Linked DNA regions of Homo sapiens: region 2 is linked to region 1. Evidence: promoter capture Hi-C in 16 types of primary human blood cells and fetal thymus (Javierre and others, 2016). All regions are on one chromosome and are shown on one strand. The core of a region is centred on a gene start or on the middle of the fragment in contact, and the rest is flanking DNA. Distances in the headings are between cores, read along the strand shown.

Region 1 (7,171 bases), core at 1,750-4,249:
AGGCAATCTCTATCGAAAATTCCAACAGCCATTTTTGCAAAAGTGAAAAACCTCTTCTCAAATTTATAAATTGCAAGGGTACCAAATAGCCAAAACAATGTTGGAGAACTCAAACTTCCAAATTTCAGAATTTACTACAAAAGTACAGTAAACAAAACAGTGTGGTATCGGCATGAGGCATGAGAACAGACATATAGATCAATTGAATTGAACTGAATTGAAAATTCAAATATAATCCTATACATCTGTCATGAATTGATGCTTGACAACAATGCCAAGTCCATCCAATGGGGATCAAATAGTCTCTTCAGTAGATGATATTGGGACAACTGGATTTTGCAATGCAAAAGAATGCAGATGGACCCCCTACTTCACACCACATACAGAAATTAGCTCAAAATGGATCAAGGAGCTACATGTAAGAGCAAAAGCCATAATGCATTTAAAAGAAAACATAGTGGTAAATCTTCATGATCTTGGATTTGGAAATTGATTCTTTCTTAAATATGACACCAAAAGCACAAGCAACAACAAAAAATAAATAAGTAAATTGGACTTTATCAAAATCAAAAACTTTTGTGCAACAAAAGACATTATCAAGAAAGTGAAAAGACAATCTACAAAATGGTAGAAAATATTCAAAAGTACGTATCTGATAAAAGTTTAATATCCAGAATATATAAAAATCCATACAACTTAAGAACAAAAAGACAACCCAATTTCAAAATGGGCAAAGGACTAGAATAGTCATTTCTTCAAAGAAGATTACATATAGTTGAACATAAAAAGATGTTCAACATCACTAGTCATTAGGGAAATGAAAATCAGTACCACAATTACATACCAATTCACATCCACTGAGATAGCAATAATAATAATAATTTAAAAACTGAAAATAACAAGTGTTGATGAGGATGAGGAGAAATAGAAACCCTCACACATTGTTGGTGGGAATGTAAGATGGTGCAGCACTATCAAAAACAGTTTGGCAGTTCCTCAAAAGTTAAAAAAGAGTTACCGTGTGTTCTATCAATTCAACTCCTAGTTATATACCTCGAAGAATCAAAATAGAGACTTAAACAGATATTCATGCAGCAATGTTCCCCATAGCAGTATTCACAATAGTGAAAAGATGGAAACTACCCAAATTTCCATCAACAGGTGAATGAATAAACAAAATGTGACATATACATGCAAGGGAATATTATTCAGCAATAAAAATGATTAAACTTCTGATACATACTACAATATGGATGAATCTTGAAAACATTATGCTAAGTGAAATAAGCCAAACACAAAAGGACAAATACTGTATGATTCCACTTAGGTGAGGTACCTCGAGTCTCATAAAGACAGAAGGTAAATCAGAATTTACCTGGGATTGGTTGGAGGGGAATGGGGTGTTAATGCTCACTGGCCATGGAGCTTCAGTTCAGAGTTATAAAAACATTTTGGAAATAGTGGTAATGGTAGCACAACACTGTGAGTGGAATTAATGGCATTGAATTGTATACTTGAAATGGTTAAAATGGCAAATTTTATGTGATATATACCACTGTTTTAAAAATTAAAAATTAATAAAAGTAACATTACTGAAAACCATTGAATTGTGTACTTTAAGTTTGTGAATTGTATGGCATGTGATTTATAGCTCCATAAAGCTGTTAAAAATAAAAATACAAAATATTCACCTCGAAGTCATGTTTACTGGATGTAACATAGATTGGTTTTTGTTTTATTCTTTTTTTCTCCTTTCCCATTTGTAATAGTTTCAGACTATTATAAACACTTCCATGCTTTTATCAACACTAAAACAATGTTGTCAGTTAATAAGTGAATTCCATTAGAAGTATAAATATGCTCGCTAAATTAAAATTGGAAACTGCCATCAGAATTATCTTAGTTCTGCATTGATCTAGGTCTCTTGTCACACATTCAGAATGCCACTTCGCACAGTATCTGCACGTAATGGATATAAGATAAACTTAATAATAATTTATATGAATGCATGATAAGGGAGAAAAACTTATATGATCCATGCAACTTCCTTTCCTCTACTCAAAATTTCTAAGTCAGTTCCTTTATCATCATTATTCCTAGAGGTGGTTATATTCTTTAGAACCTCAATTCTTACAACTCACTTATTCATTGGGGGAAAAAAAATCAACTGCTTAAGAGCTACCGGCATATTGACAAATACAGTAAGTCAAACATTGCATTTTTTTTTTTTTGGCCTGATGAAGACTCATCATTACACCATTGAGTTTCAGAACTGGCAGGAAACTTTATAATGAAACAAACATTTTATTTCCCTCATGTAAGGATCCACCATTTTAAGTAAAATTGCCTGTGTTTGAATGTCAAATTGACATAGTTGATGAAAATGGAAAATCATAATATTGAACTTGAAATACTAAATGTATAGAGTGACACTAGCAATTTCCTTCATGGAAGAATCTGTGGACGGTGTAATAGTTTACCTTATAAATAAATAGGAAAGACATTAAAATTTAAGTCTAATAGTCCAGGGATTTTCAAGAATGGGAGATATATCTTTAATCTAGGAAAAATAAAAGCAATTTGAGACTACTAAAAAACAAAAGTTGAAGTAGGAAGGATTTGCCATTCCTCACCTTCCAATACTCACACTGAAACCCTTTCTTCTTTTATTACAACTCCACATCCTTACTCTTAAATATCATCTTCCTTCTTTGTAGTTACCCAAATCTTGAAGGCCAGACACCTTCAAATGTTTTTTCATTTTAATAGAAAATTATTTCAGACTTAAAACCCTTTCAGAAGACAAGTAGCTTCAATAATTGAATTAACAGAGCTGAGAATTATATAAATTTACCTGGCTTCTGCCTGCTGACCGTGGTCTGGGTCATCTGGAGTCCCAGCAGTTTAAGACCAAAAATAATTGCTTCATATCAAGATCTTTTGTGTTGCTTCTGCCTCACACCCTTGCAACTGACGGCCAAGCTGGTCCCTTCAGCTCCTGGTTGTATGCTCAGGCTTTGACCATCTGTCCTGTCTAGCCCTGTGGTTTGGGTTTCCTCCTGCTTCCTGATTTCATGCCTGATTTCAGCCTCTTAATTTTTCTGAGCTCTTGGTGTCAGTGTCTGTCTTATCTTTACTTAGTTCCTAATTTCTATTATGTTTTGATCATCCCTACTTCCATGTCCAATTTTTCCTGCTTTGGTATTTTGATGCATTTCAAAACTACACTTCACTCCCTACCCAATCTCAACTCCAAGATCATCCCTGGCTCAGTTCATGCACTAACCATGCTATGTACTGAGATTACTACTCCGAGAATTTAACATAGACTAGTCTTGAATAAAGTAAAGGCAAAGAGTCAAACACAACTTACTCAAATTAATCAGAGCAACTAATAAGCATTCAATTAGTGCTTAAGGAATTAACAGATATTTGTTGACTCAATTCAGACTTTTTTCAATAATAACCCACAAAATAGATGCATATGGCCCTATTCATCAATAAGCAAAATGTACCCGCGGTGAGGGTGAAACATTTAATCTATTGTATATTTAAGCCAGTGGAGATCAGGAAGCTTAAAAGACACTGAATCCACAGGGACAATGTATTGCCAGCCAAACATAATTAGCTAGATTAGACTGTTAGGCTCACTGATGCTGCAGTTTCTTTGAAAAGGACCATGTGGTTTGGTAGATGACAATAGGCAGTTATGCCTATGGCAATTTGTTTTCAGAAATCAAATCAGTAAGAGCCCCCTTCTTGCTACATTTTATTTTGGGATTTAGAATTATATTACTGACAAACATTAATTTTCACTGTATCCTGAATAGGCAAAAAATATACATTATACATACATTATACATTGTGTTATACAATTATCATACATTATATATTTGTTACTCGTGTCATTAAGCTCTTAAAACAATCATCCTGGAATTGGTCTTCCATTCTCCATTGTGTGTGTGTGTGTGTGTACACATGCATGTATAGGATCCTTTCTTATGTGTGTGTGTGTGTACACATGTGTGTATAGGATCCTTTCGTGTGTGTGTGTGTGTGTGTGTATTTAGTTCTTGGTTACTTTTTTTTGTTCCTACGATGGACATTTTTTCTTCATCAGTTGTCACCAAGTAGTCCAGGGCTGCGTGTCTTCTAATAAGTCTATTAATTCTTTTTTTTTTTTTTTTTTTTTTTTTTTTTTTTTGAGACGGAGTCTCGCTCTGTGGCCCAGGCTGGAGTGCAGTGGCGCGATCTCGGCTCACTGCAAGCTCCGCCTCCCGGGTTCACGCCATTCTCCTGCCTCAGCCTCCCAAGTAGCTGGGACTACAGGCGCCCGCCACCACGCCCGGCTAATTTTTTTGTATTTTCAGTAGAGACGGGGTTTCACCGTGTTAGCCAGGATGGTCTCGATCTCCTGACCTCGTGATCCGCCCGCCTCGGCCTCCCGAAGTGCTGGGATTACAGGCGTGAGCCACCACGCCCGGCCTATAAGTCTATTAATTCTTAAGTAAAGTATAAAAGGAAAATAATCATATGGAGCCCAGTTAATTATAGTGAATTATGCACATGTAGTCCAATATGTGATATTACCAAGGGCTTGCTGTTTTTGAGTTTCATGAAACACTACCCTAAAGAACTTTTCAAAACAGTTGTATTTAAATTTGCTGATTAAAATGTTAAAGACTATGACTCATGTGCTACAGATCTTTATGACAGATACTGTCATGGAAAACAGTCTTCAGGATGTAGTGGTTTGGCACTGTGCAGTGTAAAGGACTTCAAGATGGCCTTTCTTTATCACTAGTACAGCTTCATATTACATTGTTCTTTCTAATGTTGGACACTTTGCACTGAGTAATATTTTAAGAAATCAACATTAAGACTAACTTTTGCAATTTCTTTTATTTGCCTGAGTTTATTTGGATCTAAACACTCAGAGTTCAAATTACATTTGCTTTCCTGAATGTGGTTGCCTTGGTGTCCTGCAAAAAATAAAAAATAAAAAACAAACTTTACTTATGGTAATACATTCATGAAAATAAGTGTGCTGGCTAGACAACATGTCTCTCAAAAGTTTCTAACAAACAATAACCTGAAAATGTACTATGGTAAATGTCAATAGTTTTTTATTTTTGATGGCCCTGTGTGCTTTAAGGAAAACCGAGGGAAGTGGTAACTGTGCCTTTGTCAATCCAGTTTACGGGAACTGGAGCAACCCAGAGAAAACAGAGGTAAGTGGCAAGGGTGAACTATATCTTTTCACACATATGCACACACATACAAACACACACACACACACAGGCTGAACCAGTGTTGCTTGATCATGTTTCTACATCATAACTAAAAGAAATGTTTTAGTGGAGTTATTTCAATTGGGGATAGAAAGGAGTTTCCATCTCTATAAATATGCTGTGAGAATTGTCCATTTCAGGACAGTTTCAGTCTGCTTGTAAGATCACTTCACTGTTAAATGGTGTTGTGGTCACTATTTATACTCAAAAAGAGCTGAAAAATCTGGGAAATATCAGTTTAACCCACAGAGTATTAGTCAGCTGCTTACAGTAACTATTCATTGAATGTCTTTCATATTTTATTTTCAAAAACAAAAGAGAGGATAGCATTCTATGTTCTGTTTAAATTTAGGGTGACTAGTGAGGGCCATTACCTGATAACTTAGAAGAGAAAAAACAAATGAGAATGTATTACATCTTCCTTGGCCCTTTTTGGGGCTACCCCTTATTTTTATAAGCAGGGAGAAAATGGCAAGGAAAACCTTTCTTGTTCCTTTTTTAGATTTTTTATATTTTAAGTCATTTTTAGGTATAGTTGACAAAACTTTTATATGTTTAAGGTATACATTATATTTTACTATAGGTATACATTGTGAAGTGATTACTACAATGAAACTATTTAAAATATCTATCACCTCACATAGTTTACTTTGTGTGTGTGTGTGTGTGTGTGTGTGTGCTGAAAACATTTAGGATCTCTCTTAGCAAATTTTGAGTATATCACACATTATTATAGTCACATGCTATACATTAGATCCCCAGAATTTATACATCCTGCACAAAAACTTTGCACTCTTTGATCAATATCTCATTCCTTTCTTTTTATTTTCCCATTCCTTTCTTAAGTAAGTGTTATGAGAATTCATCTGGATATAAAGTAAGTTTAGTTATGACACACCACTTCCGAACTGTAAAAGTTTTATTACATCTGAGTTTAGAGCTATATAAAATTCACTCCTTATAAAATGAGTATTATAGAAAGCTAAAGTTTTAATTATTCTCTTTCTTTATGAAAATAGGTCACAGTTTTTTATCTTGTTCCTGGTTATGAAAATGAGTAGCAAGGTATCAGGTCAGGTGGTTTCTGGTAGTTTAAGAGCCTTGAGTGCTGTGGCCGAAGCCTAACAAAGCACTTGACTTTTTAATTTTTGTGTTTTAATCAATAATGATATGATACACACTTTTAGTATTGTTTTGGTAGGAATGAAAACGGGAAGTAAATGATTTCCTAAAGCACAGAGAAAATGAATTTAGATGATTCGACAAGTAAATCAAGACAGAGTAAAAATGAAAAGGGAGACCTACTTCATGGATAAAAAAACACATACACATTTAAGAAAACAAATGTAATATATCTTTTTGACAAAATAGGATGGTGTAATATAAATATATTTTCATTTTTACTGGAGAAAGAAAATCTATTATTTATTTATTTTTTGAGACGGAGTTTCACTCTTGCCACCCAGGCTGGAGTGCAATGGTGTGATCTCGACTCACTGCAACCTCCACCTCCTGGGTTCAAGTGATTCTCCTGCCTCAGCCTCCTGAGTAGCTGGGATTAGAGGCGCCTGCCACCATGCCCAGCTAATTTTTGTATTTTTAGTAGAGACAGGGTTTCATCATGTTGGCCAGGCTGATCTCAAACTCCTGACCTTAGGTGATCCGCCTTCCTTGGCCTCCCAAAGTGCTGGCATTACAGGCGTGAGCCACTGTACCTGGCCAGAACATTTAATATTTTTTATCCTCAGCTTAGTTTAACTTTTAGTGTCTGAAAGGTACACATGAGATAAGGAATTAAAGTGAGATCTTTTCAATTTTATGTTTTTTGTATTAGTGCCTCATAAACTTGTAGTAACTAAAAAGTGGCTCGATAGGTATTA
Region 2 (7,171 bases), core at 2,638-5,137, 53 kb after region 1:
GACAAATAAAAAAGAGGGGAGAAGCTTAGAAAGTTGAATTAATTTACCCTTATCAAAAGCATAAGGACACATTATGTTTACTTATTCCTCCCTCACTACCCTACCTAGCAAAAGAAACCAGATATACACACACACATATGCGCGTGTGTGCACACACACACACACACATACATACATAGAATGGACTAAATGTTTGTTTTGCTTCACAATTCATATGTTGAAAACCTACTTCTCAGTGTGATAATATTTGGAGGTAGAGTCTTTGGAAGGTAATCCTAGCTACTCAGGAAGCTGAGGCAGGAGAATCACTTGAACCCAAGAGGTGGAGGTTGCAGTGAGCTGAGATGGTGCCATTGCACTCCAGCCTGGGTGACAGAGTGAGACTCTGTATCAAAAACAAACACACAATCAAAAAAAAAAAAAGAGCTCCTTAAAGTTGTTGGAGGTATGGCAGACTCAGCAGGAGTCTCATTTTCCCCTCACTGTCCTCACTTGGGTTCTCTGCCCATTGCTCAGTCATTATCATGCATCTCACATCACCTAGCCTCAAGGTCTTATCTCTCAGCCTCACAGTGATTGGTCCAGCAGGTAGTGGGGCTTCCCATGTCTTTTCCCATCATCCATAGGAAGAGCTGTAACTGCCCCAGTGGTAGTGGAAGACTCCCGCTTAGACCAGGAAGTGATGGAGAAAGCAATTTTGGCGACTGATTCTTTCTTCCACGCTCTGCTCCCACAGCAGCCCTAGGGGATGCTGTGATTACTTGGATCAATGTAATTATGACTCGTGCATCCCTCTTTCTTAGGACAAAGTTTGTAAGTCTCTGACCTTTCCTATTCTCTGGGTTACAGACTAATAGCAAGAAAAGTGACAATGATGATAATTAACATTTGTTAGAACTTACTAGGTGCTAGATAATAAGCACATGTTTTACATGTAACTCATTAATCTTCGTAGTTCCATGAGGTAAATAGACAGTCATGTGCTTCCCATCAATGTTTTGGTGGAAGACAGACTGCATAAATAAAAGTGGTCTCATAATATTATAATGCAGCTGAAAACTTCCTATGGCTTAGGGACACTGTAGCTATCCTAATGTCATTGTGAAACACATTACTCACATGTTTGTGGTGATGCTGGTGTAAACAAGCCTATTGTGCTGACAGTAATGTAAAAATACAGCACATATAGCATATCTATGTATAATACATAATACTTGCTAGTGATAACAAACAATGTTATTACTGGTTTATGCATTTACCATACTATTTATTATTATTATAGAGTGTACTCTTTCTACTTAAAAAACGTTAACTATAAAACAGCCTCAGGCATATATTTCAGGGAGTATTCCAGGAGAAGGCACTGTTTATGCAGGAGATGACACTTCTATACATATTATTACCCCCAAGGACCTTCCAGGTGGGACAGGATGTGGAGGTGGAAGACAGTGAAATTGGTGATTCTGACCCTGTATTGGCCTAGATCAATATGTGTGTTTGTGTCTTAATTTTCAACAAAAGCAATTCAAAAGTAAAAAATTTAAAAATGAAAAATTTTAAAAAGAAAAAAAAAGCTTGTAGAATAAGGATATAATAAAAGAAAACATTTTTGGACAGTCGTACAATGTATTTGTGTTTTAAAGCTAAGTGTTATTGCAAAGGAGACAAAAATTTAGAAATCAAACATTTATATAGTAAATCATTACAGTGAGCTAAGGTTAATTTATTAATGAGGAAAGAAAAATATTTTTGAATAACGTAGTCTGGGTATACAGTGTTTATAAGGGCTACAGTAGTGTACATTAATGTCTTAGGCCATTGCTCACCACCCACTCATGGACTCACCCAGTGCAACTTCCAATTCCGCAACCTCCTTTCATGGTCACTGCCCTATATAGGTGTACTATTTCTTATATACTATACTTTTACTGTACCTTTCCTATGTTCAGACACATGAATACTTTCATTGTGTTACAATTGCGTATAGCATTCGGTCCAATAACATGCTGTGCGATATTGTAGCCTAGGAGCAACAGACTATTCATTCCATATAACCTGGATGTGTAGGAGGCTCTACCATCTAGGTTTGTGTAAGTACACCCAAGGATGTTTGTCAACAACGAAATCACCTATCGATGCATATCTCAGAATGTATTCCCATCAAGAAGTGACATATGACTCTGTTATTCCCATTTCTCAGTTAATGACTTTGAGGCCCTCAGTAGTTGAGCAATTTACCCAAATTCACAGCTTAAAAGTGGTGAAGGCAGCATTCAAACTCTATCTGCCTCTAGAATTTGTATTCTGAACTATGAGTTCCAGTGGCCTCTCATAATGTACATTCCATAGTAATAATAACAAACAATCAATGACACTATAGATACCCATTGGTAAGTCCCATGCTTTGAGTAGTTTTTCAATGAGTTGAATGGGTTGCACTGAATTAAATTATTTGCTCTCTCCCCTGGTTCCTCTAAATAGGAGCACCCTTGCGGGGCTGGCTAAATGGAACTGGAAATGTAATCTGTAGTTAGGAAACATTAGGGGGTTCTTGTTTGTTGTTAAATCTAAGATAACTATTTATTAATAGCCTTTTGGGGATGTTTGAATGTTTATAAAGTATTATTACAATCAGAGTCCACTTCAAAGTATAATCGAGAGTTCAAATGATTTCCTTCTTCCTTAACCTTATAATACAAAAGGGAATTCACTCCATTTCTGCAAGTAGAAAATCTGAAATTTAGTTATAGGAAAGAAGAACATGAAAGTGCAAATGTGTTTTTTTTTTTTTCCTTTCCCTTTGAAATCCATCACCTTCCTTTACCATGGAGACAAAAGATTATTATAATTTTTTTCTAAGATTATTAGAATTTATTTCATGTGCAATACTTCCTGGCTTTAATATCTCATAAATTTGAAATGTTCTGAATTTCTATGGCTTAGTTGTTCTTCAGGAAGTATTTATCTTTCTGTTTGTTTGTTTTTCTTAGCACATTTAGAAAAAGAAAATATTTGTACTCTCATTTGTCATGTAACAGTTCCCAAGCATTCCAATTTATTCTTCAGAATCTATTAGTGTGGAGTTGAAAGCCTTATCATTTTAGGGACATTTTTAAGCTTTCCTATTTTTCTCTCCTGGCACTTTCTAAAACTTCTAGAGTTAACTTTAACATTGCATTTCTGAAATTTAATGAAAACCATTTTGTCTTGGATATTACCACAAGAAACACATTTAGTGACCAATGTACATGTTTTCACCCCCACTACCTCATTAATCTAGAATAATCAGGGAAGAAATAATCTGAATAAGAAATTTTCCAGAAATTAGGAATTTGCAAATTTAAATATTCAAAATGTGGAAAATATATATGGTTGACAAATATTTTCTTGCTTTAAAAAGAATATGTGAAGCACAACCTAACCACGTTTGTTATTTTTGTTTCAGTAGGAGTATAAATTATTATGGAGTACTGCAATAATACAACAGCTATTTTCTCACTGGTAAAACTCCTTCTCACCTTAAATTCAACAAGTTTATTCAACACATGTCTTTAATGAATGCCTATTATATTTGACACTCTGCCAAGTGAATGACGACTTATGAAAACAGCACTCATATAAAAACATGGACCATCACCAGTACCCCTAAAACCTCCCCCAATGGCTTCTCCCAATCATCAACCCCACCGCCTTCCCATTGCTATCTACTCTTTGACTTCCTACATCATATGTTAGTTACTGTCCTTTGTAAATGAAATAATATGTATTCTTTTGTATCTTGCTTTTTGTTTAACATTATATTTGTGAAATTCATTCATCTTGTGGCATTTTGCAGCAGTTTTCATTGTGAATGAATATGCCAAAAATTACTTATCCATTCTATTTGTTCATGGGCATTTTGGCCTGTTTCTAATTTGAAGTTATAGAAAGAGTGCTGTTTTAAATATTCTTGGACTTGCCTTGTGGTAAACATATGTATGCATTTTTTGCTAGATATTTATCTAAGAAAAGAAGTGCTACGTTTTCAGATGAACGTATGCTTAGCTTTAATACAAAAGGGTCACATCATGTAGTCTCAAACACCTTTATAGAAATCTCACATGATACTTCTGAGTATGTGTATCTCATTGTCCATAACCCAGCTGAAGGCCACATACCTAGCTTCAAGAAAGGGAAGGCAGCAATGGATTTTGGCTGGATCCATTCCCATCCTTAATAAAATCTGAATTCTGACACCAAGAAAGAAAGGGAGTATTGGTAATGCATGAAAAGCACAGGTCTCTGCCACACTAACTCTCCGTCAGCCCTTGCCATCTCAGGAAACAGAACTCTTGTCCACTTTGTGTTCCAGTAAAATATCCCAGGATCATTCTTCTCTCCTCCTACCCCCTTCCAGTCTATCAGCAAGTCTTCTTAGTTCTATTTCCCAAATACATCTTGACTGTATCATCTTCTCTCCTCCTCTGCTATCCCCTTAACATAAGCCACATCATCTCTTAGATAGACGCACTATTGCAGCTGCTTCCTGTTGGAGCTCTTTTGATCCAGTTTTGCTCCCCCACCATCCTTATAGCAATCAGTGTGGTTTGGTTTGGTTTTGCCTTCCTGTTTGGGGGGTTTATTTCCTTCCAATAACGCGACATTAGTTCCCTATCTAAAAGCTTTCAATGGCTTCCTTTTGTACTTAACAGTAAAAATTCAACTTCCTAACACTGGCCCTCGTGAACATCTACATGTTCATTCCATTCTCATCCTCTGCTTCAGCTACAAAAGCTTCACATACATCAAATTCTTTCCCACTTCGTGATCTTTGCCCCAGAACATACTGCTTCCAAGTTTTATGGTTTTGTTTGCTCATTTTGTTTGCAGTTTGTCTCCCACCATGGGAACGTAGGCATTGTGAATGTAGGGCTTGTCTGAGCTCTGTACCCAAAGGGACCAGCCTAAACCCTTGTGGTGGTGAACAATGTTGAATGAACAAATGCATCTCTTATTTGTGAACCTATGAACAATTTTGATTTCTTATTATGGCTTATACTCTATTCTAAATATTCTCAATATTCTTTAGCAAACATGGATTGCTCTTGAATGTTAAAAAGGTTTAATTTAGTGACTACGTTAAATAATTTGCCGTGTATAATTTTTAAGTCTGAAGTTAATTAATTAGTAATGTCAACTAATATTTTGCAGCAGCACCTAGAATACTTAATATATAGTGTAGGAACATCAGGTAACAAACAAATCAACCCACATTATAACTTCGAGGAACTTGTGATTCTGAAATGAGAGCTAAGAAATAAACATAGCTATCTATATTCTAATCCAGACTTTTTAAGTTCTAGAAAAGGTACATAAGTTAAACGTGAGTGATTACTATATAATTTTTTCTCATTAAATGTTGTTATAATGGGTCTCAAAATTCTGTGGCAGATTTTTGATCAAGTTGTTTCCATTAAAAATTACTCACTTTAAAAGCTAATAACTTAAAACTGCCCCATGCAGAAAAGGCCAAAATAGTCCACAAAACATTCTTCTTTTCTTCTAAAGGTTTTATGGTGCGTTGTTATCATTACCCAGTTTTTTACTATTAAACTTAAATGGCCAATTGAAACAAAGAGTTCTGAGACTATTCTTGTACCACTTATTAAGACTGTGATGGCAGGTGTTACGGATAATTTCATTTAGCCACACAATATGGTTTGGATTTGTGTCCCTGCCCAAATCTCCTGTGGAATTGGAGGAGGGGCCTGGTGGGAGGTGACTGGATCATGGAGGTGGATTTCCTCCTTGCCGTTCTTGTGCTAGTGAGCGTCCCTTGTGCAGCTGTTATGTAAAGTAACATAACAATTCCATTCAGGTATTGGAATGTTAATACCATTCAGGTATTCAAGGCGATACCATTCAGTACATAGGAATAAGCAAAGATTTCCTGATGAAGATGCCAAAAATTATCTCAGCAAAAGCAAAAATTCAAATTGTTGCTTGATCTTACAGCAAATATTTCTCCATCTTATTTCATGTTTTGTCATTATTTACCCTAAAAGCAAATCTAACATAAAAATAAGAAAAGAATTAAAAAAAAAAACATAAAAACAAATAACAAAGAAAAACACCACTCTCTGAAGCAAGTTCCCAAGTATGCCTGCAATTGCTGTCTAGATACTAGGAAGGTATTTTCCAGCACTTGGTCTGACTCCGCAATGCTGTTCAGCTTACTTCAGGGAAAATGAGCAGCTTATTTGATATATGCTGGATTAATCTGCCTTTTCTACAGGATAACATCCTCAGGGAAAGGCACCATTCAGAAATCAAAGCTGAAAAACTTTAAGACTTCCAAAGAACACTAGAGATACGGTATAACTGAAGTTAAAAAGAAACATTTAATAGCCTTAGTTTATCTTAAAAAATAAATGCCTCATGACATTGAAAGATGTTTAGTAAGCTGTTTATTGAAAAGAACCAAGATAAATATTATGTATAGTGTGACAAAGTCTATAAATGTTATGGTGCTATTTAAAATTACTTTGATAGGCATCCAAATGGGAAAAGAGGAAGACAAACTATCTGTGTTTGCAGAGGACCTAATTCTATATCTGGAAAACCCCATAGTATCTGTCTAAAAGCTCCTTTAGCTGATAAACAACTTCAGCAAAGTTTCAGAATACAAAATCAATGTACAAAAATCAATAAAATTCCAATACACCAACATCCAAGCCCAGAGGCAAATCAGGAATGAAATCTCATTCACAGTTGCTACAAAAAGAATAAAATACCTAGGAATACAGCTAACCAGGGAAGTGAAACATCCCTAAAATGAAAAATATACAACACTGCTCAAAGAAAACAGAGATGACACAAACAAATGCTCATGGGTAGGAAGAATCAATAATGTTAAAAATGGCCATATTGTCCAAGGGAATGAAGAGATTCAATGCTACTCCCATCAGACTACCAATGGCATTTCTTCTCAAAACAAGAAAAAACTATTTAAAAATTCATATGAAACCAAAAATTCATATGAAAAAACTATTTAAAAATTCATATGAGCCTGAATAGCCAAGACAATACTAAGCAAAATGAACAAAGCTGGAGGCATTACATTACCTGACTTCAAACTGTACTACAGGGCTACAGTAACCAAAACATCATGGTACTGGGAGAAAAACAGACA

The links. Contacts are between HindIII fragments. The CHiCAGO score rates a contact against its expected background, and 5 or more counts as called.
Region 2: a fragment that was not itself captured here is called in contact with the fragment with the promoter of MALRD1-AS1 in region 1 in 1 of 17 cell types (megakaryocytes); the score reaches 6.7 in megakaryocytes.

Annotation. Positions count from the first base shown.
Region 1 is chr10:19,725,551-19,732,721 of GRCh38, forward strand. It overlaps MALRD1-AS1 (MALRD1 antisense RNA 1), which reads right to left and starts at 3,000. Exons shown (of 5, transcript NR_120646.1): 1 at 2,855-3,000. MALRD1 (MAM and LDL receptor class A domain containing 1) reads left to right here. Exons shown (of 40, transcript NM_001142308.3): 39 at 5,156-5,231. The HindIII fragment of the contact is 5,040 bases long and covers 1-3,572 here.
Region 2 is chr10:19,778,081-19,785,251 of GRCh38, forward strand. No RefSeq gene overlaps it. Among named protein-coding and RNA genes, the nearest start is that of PLXDC2, 35 kb to the right of the region's middle. The HindIII fragment of the contact is 1,544 bases long and covers 3,116-4,659 here.